Regions from separate parts of the Homo sapiens genome. Here region 2 is linked to region 1. The links are contacts of gene promoters, found by promoter capture Hi-C in blood cells and fetal thymus (Javierre and others, 2016). All regions are on one chromosome and are shown on one strand. Each heading gives the region's core, a stretch centred on a gene start or on the middle of the fragment in contact. The rest is flanking DNA. Distances are from core to core; before and after follow the strand shown. Region 1 holds the start of PRSS1 (serine protease 1). Region 2 has its middle 69 kb from the start of PRSS1.

The links. Contacts are between HindIII fragments. The CHiCAGO score rates a contact against its expected background, and 5 or more counts as called.
Region 2: a fragment that was not itself captured here is called in contact with the fragment with the promoter of PRSS1 in region 1 in 1 of 17 cell types (naive B cells); the score reaches 5.2 in naive B cells.

The regions. Positions count from the first base shown.
Region 1 is chr7:142,747,568-142,751,058 of GRCh38, forward strand. PRSS1 (serine protease 1) reads left to right here and starts at 1,905. Exons shown (of 5, transcript NM_002769.5): 1 at 1,905-1,957; 2 at 2,988-3,147. The coding sequence starts at 1,918. It also overlaps TRB. The HindIII fragment of the contact is 901 bases long and covers 1,497-2,397 here.
Region 2 is chr7:142,678,637-142,682,127 of GRCh38, forward strand. It overlaps TRB and the pseudogene TRBVA. Among named protein-coding and RNA genes, the nearest start is that of PRSS1, 69 kb to the right of the region's middle. The HindIII fragment of the contact is 1,895 bases long and covers 609-2,503 here.

The DNA.
Region 1 (3,491 bases), core at 655-3,154:
GCATGGTAATGCTCTGAGACTAGGTGCCAGGAGAAAGATAAATTCAATCATCCATTTCTACCAGGAAGAAAAGCACCAGGAAGGAATCAGATGTACAGTTTGTCCTCTAGGGACCTCTGTCTTGATCCTCAATAAATCTCCTTTTAGATACCTCCTCTTAGATGAAATTCCCACACTTCACAATGCTCTCCATGGCTTCTGTTGGCCTTATGGTCAGCTCTGCCAAGATCTGTATTCTTGGGCAAGACAGAATCCTTCTGAATCTCAGTCTCTTGCTCTATAAATGGAAACAATTTTGCTCTGCACAAATTACAATTAGCATGTTTGTGGGAAGTTAAAGTGTGAAACTCAGCATAAATGAAAAGTAATGTACCACTGTTGCTTACATGAAAACTCTTGTAAAGTTGTCAGGCACTGTGCACCATCTAAGCATAGCAGTGTTAGGTATGGGCCCATTAGTGATTAGAGGGGGTGCGAGGCGGAGAGGGGGTCTCCAAGCAGTGGGTCTCCTGGCTGTGGGGAAGCTGGCTCAGCAGCCATACCAGGAGCTGAAACCGAAGGTACTCTGTGTGTCCTCTCAACACCATGGGCCCCACTTTGGCATTATTTCCAATTCCCTCTGGTTTCCATTTGCTTCCTCCCTCTAGCCCCCTGGCCAGGTCCGATTTCAACACCAAGTTTCTGAGCTTTTCCCATTTTGTCCACCGTCTCTAGAACATTTCTGCTTCTTTTACCTTTCAAAGAATCCAAACTTGAACTCTACTTACTCCTGCCCATCACCAGCCTGAGCTCAGAGTTGCTGAGAAGGGAAAGCACCCTCATAAGGAAGCTCCTCCTTTCCCTACATCATTAGACTTGAGCACAGACAGCATCTCCATTTCCACACTGCTCTGGCCAGGTTGTGCCTCAGTCAATTACACAACTGTGTCTTAGTAGCCTTGGTAGGGCCCAAATCAGGATATTCTCTAGGAAGATTCACTTTGTACTGAGCCAAGCATAATCTCACTGCATCGAAAATAGAAAATGATCATCTGATCATTCTGGTTCAGACTGTCAGCCCTGAGCAGGTGGGTCAGTTTGCATCACCTGAGTGCAGATTGCAAGGACAACAGTGAGGCTGCATAAAAAGAACCTATGACAGGATGCACATGAGAGAGACAAATGTCTTCACATTGAAGAAGGGGAGGAGTGCGCCATTGGTTTTCCATCCTCCAGAGGCACTGAGAAAGCTCCTACAGAAACTGTGCCCCCTCCTTCTTTGAAACACTTCCCATCCTTAAGCCTTGGTAGGAAGGAGAGAAATCTGGAAGCCCAGAATCCTATGGAATGCTGAGTCTCCCTTCTCCTTACCCCTTAGTGTTGGAATTTTCATTCCCCAAAATCTTGCATTTGACCTTCCTGCACACTGACTGGAGAGAAGCATCTTCATATTCACAGGAATGAGCCTTAGATAAGACTTTGCTCCTCTCATGTGGGCCCCAGGAAACTGAAATCCAAGCTTTTTACCAATGCTTGCCCTTCCTTAAGTACATTAAATACATTCCCAATAGGTGGAAAGATTTGTAAACAGCTAGGCCATTCTCCCTCCTTCTAACCCTCATCTCCAGGGCCTAAGAAAGCCCAGCTCTGTTATCTGGGGCTTGACTTTCCCTGTCTTCCCCATCCCAGTATCCTTGCAGGAAACAGCCGGTCTCGCTCTCTGCTCTCAGAAGGAAAGTTTCCTTATCACCTGTGAATCACAAACCCAGAGAGTGGCCAAACATAGCCAGGCTGATGCAAGACCCTGGGAAGAGGAAAGCTGCAGGTGTGTTTGTGCTGGGAGGAGTGGTGACCCTCACCTCACAGTCACCTCCTCTCTGGATCCTCGTGAGGTATAAAGACGAGTCCTCCACCACCAGTCAGGCACACTCTACCACCATGAATCCACTCCTGATCCTTACCTTTGTGGCAGCTGCTCGTGAGTATCATGCCCTGCCTCAGGCCCCAACCACCCCCCCGTTCCTGGCCGACAAATGCCCTTCCATTCTTACCACCTCTCCTCTTTTGACTGTGCTCTGATATTCCGTTTCCTCCATCTGGCATATCTCCTTCCCATCCTCCTTGGGCTCTTTTTAAGTCTCACCTGTTCACCTTCTCCTTGACTTCACTCCCACCACTGTCATTCATCCATATCCGAGTTGTGGTTGGAGAAGCTGGGAAGGGGGCCAGGTGGGGCTGTCCCACGAAATGAAGCAGCAGGCTTCAGGCTTGGCTCCAACAGCAACAGAATAGCACCACTATAGCTGCTCCTAACCTCGAATGCACCTGGGGAGGTTGAAAAATTACTCATGCCAGAGACTCAGCTCTAGAAATTCTAACTTCAATTGTCTGGGGTAGAGCTTGTGTTCTGGGCTTTTAAGCTTCCCAGGTGATTTTTAATATTTCCAGCCATGCAGCCAAGGTTAAGAATTGCTGTCCTATTGGCCAATAACAAAGTCTACCTTTGTTCTGCCAAAGTGAGCCTGGGGGCTGCCCTCAACTCTGCCCTGACTGCACAGATCTGAGCTATGGGGGAAGGTGGTCATGGCCAGGTCTATGCAGACAGGGGGTTTTCCTAGCTTGGCAAAAGAATCCTGACAATCCAGGGCCCAAATAGCCAGGGGAAGTACACAGGTGATGAATAAAAGAGAGAAGCACTCAGTGGGAGAGACAACCACATCCCAACTCCTATCCCACTGGAAGCATTGTGAGGACATTCCTTGCGACTTCAGCCTGGTGACCCCAGGAGAGCTCGGATCCTCCGCAGGGTACCTAGCTATGTGCCCTGCAGGCACAGAGACTTGGGAGCCACAGGCAGTGATGATCACCAGGGGTGGCAGAGCTCCCTCCCTTGCCTAGCCTCACTGTGCTTGTTAAGGATTTCTAATTAGCAGAAAGCAATCACAGGCTGGGAGCGCCACCCCTAACATGCTATTGACTTGCCTTCTCCCTTCCCATCTCCACTCCAGTTGCTGCCCCCTTTGATGATGATGACAAGATCGTTGGGGGCTACAACTGTGAGGAGAATTCTGTCCCCTACCAGGTGTCCCTGAATTCTGGCTACCACTTCTGTGGTGGCTCCCTCATCAACGAACAGTGGGTGGTATCAGCAGGCCACTGCTACAAGTCGTAAGTGTGGGGCCCCCGACTGCAAAGCTCCCGGCCAGTCTGCCTGGGAGAGCTTGGCTTCAGCCCAGGGAACTACTGAGGTTGGGTAAGATGGATGGGAGAGGTGGTGGAGAAGAAAACTTGTTGGCAGCTGCGGACTCTCCAGAGCAGAGAGTGAACACAAGACAGGAACCTCTCACACCCAGGCAAATCCATGAAACAGCAAGGGTTGTGGTCATAAAAGCAGGCAGGGATGATCTTGGGGTGGTGAGAGCTAGTGAGAAAAGCAGGCAAGTATCTTTTGCTGGTTAGCTACACATTAAAGCCAACTAAGAAAGACTTTTTAAAAATACAGATGCCTTTGT
Region 2 (3,491 bases), core at 306-2,805, 69 kb before region 1:
AAATTCCACCAAAAATTCTATATCCAGCAAAACTATCCTCTGTAAATGAAAATGAAATAAAGACATTCCCAGATAAACAAAGGCTACAGAATTGTGTGGTTAGCAGACCTGTCTTACAAGAAATATTAAAGGAAGTCATCCAGCTGAGAGAAAATGACATTGTTAGCAACTAAAATCCATAGTAAGAAATTAAAAGCACCTTAAAGGATAAATATATGTGTGAATAAATATAAAAAATACATATGCACAAACACACATAGAAGGAATATATATTTTGTATATTTTTTATATCATTTGATATACATATATAGGTTGAAACTTTAATCATTATGAAGTGTTTTTCTGTAATAATATTTTTTGCTTTAAAATTTATTTCTCTGATATTAATATAGCCACTCAAGCTTTTATGGTTACTAATATGACATATGCTTTTCCATACTTTACTTTCAATATATTTGTGTCTTTAAAACTAAAGTGATTTCCCATAGTCAGAAAATAGTTGGATTTTGGTCTTTCTATTTTACAACATAAAATCAACTCAAAATAAATTAAAGACATAAGCATAAGACCTGAAATTTTTAAAATACTATTAGAAAACATAGGGGAAAAGCTTCTTAATACTGGTCTTGGTAAACAATTTTTAGATATTACTGCAAAAGCATAGGCAACAAAAACCAAATTAGACAAGTGGGATTACATCAAACTAAAAAGTTTCTGCACAGGAAAGGAAAGGAAAGGAAAGGAAAGGAAATAATCAACAGAATAAAAAGGCAAGCTACAAAATGGGAGAAAATATTTGCAAACCACATGTCTGAAAAAGGATTAATATCCAAAATATATAAGAAATTCACACTCATTAGCAAGAAAACAACCCAATTAACATATGGCCAAATGACCTGAATAGACATTTCTCAAGAGAAAGCATACAAATGAATAAATGTTTATCATTGCTAATTATCAGAGAAATATAAATTAAAGCCACAATGAGATATCACTTCACAACTGATACACTGGCTAACACTACAAAGACAAAAGATAACAAGCATTGATAAGGATGTGCAGAAAAGGGAATCATGTACATTGTTGGCAGAAATGTGTGATGGTTAATATTGAGTGTCAACTTGGTTGGATTAAGGATGCAAAGTATTGTTCCTGGGTGTGTCTGTGATGGTGTTGCCAAAGGAGATTAACATTTGAATCAGTGGACTGGGAAAGGCAGACCACCCTCAATATGGGTGGGTACAATCTAATCAGCTGCCAGCATGGCTAGAATAAAAGCAGACAGAAGAATGTGGAAGGACTAGACTGTCTAAATCTTCTGGCTTTCATCTTTCTCCCATGCTGGATGCTTCCTGCTCTCAAACATCGGATTCCAAGTTCTTCAGTTTTTAGACTCTTGGACTTAAACTAGTGATTTGCCAGGGGCTCTTGGGCCTTCGGCCACAGACTGAAGACTACACTCTCAACTTCCCTACTTTTGATGTTTTGGGACTCAGACTGGCTTCCTGGCTCCTCGGATGGCAGAAGACCTATTATGGGACTTTACCTCGTGTTTGTATGAGTAAATACCCTTTAATAAACTCCTCTTCATCTATCCTATTAGTTCTGCCCCTTTAGAGAACCCTGACCTAATACAGAATGTAAATTAGTACAGCCATTTTGACAAACAGTATGGAGGTTCCTCAGAAAATTAAAAATAGAACTATCATATAATCTAGCAATTCCAGTTCTAGATATAAATCCAAAGGATATGAAATCTGTATGTTGAATAAATATATGTACTCTTGTGTTCCTTGAAGCATTATTCACATAGCCAAAATACAGAATTAACCTAGGTTTCCACCAAGGGATGACTAGATGAAGAATATATGATATAAATTCTGTATATGTATATATAAATATATATATTATTTATACGTATATGTGTATACATACACACATACACACACACACACAATGGAATAATACTCAACCCTACAGAAAAAGGCAATCATATAATTTGCAACAACATGTTTGGACCTGGAGACATTATGCTAAGTGAAATAATTCAGGCACAGAAAAACAAATAATGCATGGTCTCACTTATTCATGGAATCCAACAAAGTCAAACCCACAGAAGCAGAGAGTAGAAGGGTAATTGCCAAGCACTGGGATGGGGTTTCAGGAAGGGAGGCATAGGAAATAGGGAAATGTTGGTCAAAAGGTACATGTTTTAATCAGACAGAAAGAAGTTCTAGAGACCTAATATGCAGCATGATTACTATAGTTAATAATATATGTACTCTTGAAAATTGCTAAGAATGTAGATTTTAAATGTTCCTACCAAAAAAAAGTCAAAACAAAATAAGTATGTGAGATTATGCATATGTTAGCTTGATTTAATTATTCCACAATGTATACATATATTAAAATGTCACAATATCACATTGTATACAATAAATATATATAATTTCTATTTGTCAATTTTAAATAAATAATAAAGAAATGAGATAGCTTTCAACTAAGCTTATATAGCAGTATAATATAAAAATTTTTGTAGTAACAAAATTATAGTAATTTTGGCTTATACTGAAATGTGCATTAAACAAGTGTTTGCATAAAATATAATTCAAATTACTATTCATAGCCCACAGCCATGAAAACATGTGTGCCTTACTCTTGGTACAGAAACAAATAGCTTTTACTCCTAAGGAAAAAAGAAAATTCCTGCCTTTTGATGAGAATTGTTTGAGTTTTATACTTATTTTATGGGGAACTTTGCTGACCTCTTCATTCCACCATAGCTGGTTATTCCTCCCTTGCATGTACTTTTGTTTCCTGGGGGCAGTGAGTCTTGGAAACATTTGGGAAATTCTTATTCTGAGCTTGCCTGCCCACAGCCCAGGTTCCTTCCTGGAGTCTGCAGCACCAGGCTCTCTCCTTGGCTCTCTTTCTGTCTTCTGTCCCCTCAGCTCATAAACCCCAGCTCGTAGAAGCTGAAGCCACCTAGACTCTAAGACACCTGATTGCAGAGACAGGAAAGGAGTTCTCAAGATAAGTGCCAAGATTTCATACTGGTTTTCACAAGAATCAGGGTTGGAATTAGAGCCGACTCATTATTCAGTTAACATTGACATTGTTGATTAGAGACATATCCCTATTGAAAATATTTCCTGGCAAAAAATAGAAGTTCTCTTTGGCTCTGAAATCTGCAACTCCCTTTCAGATGTCCCTGTGTCCTTGTACCGTCACTCCACAGCACTGCACAGGCATGTGCTCACCTCACAAAATGGCAGTCTCAAAGGGAGGAGTGCCCACCCACAAGAGGCTCCACCCTATTCTGAGAAAGAACTTCTTTCAGAGGAGGAGAGAATAGAACTTTCCAGAACCTTTTACATGAGATTTTTTTTTTTGGGTAGGAAGTCTGACCTGAGCAGCAACCTTGCATCAGACTTCAAAAGGCAATATTTCCTATACCTCCTTGTGCTCTACTAGTGAGTACAGAAGTCGAG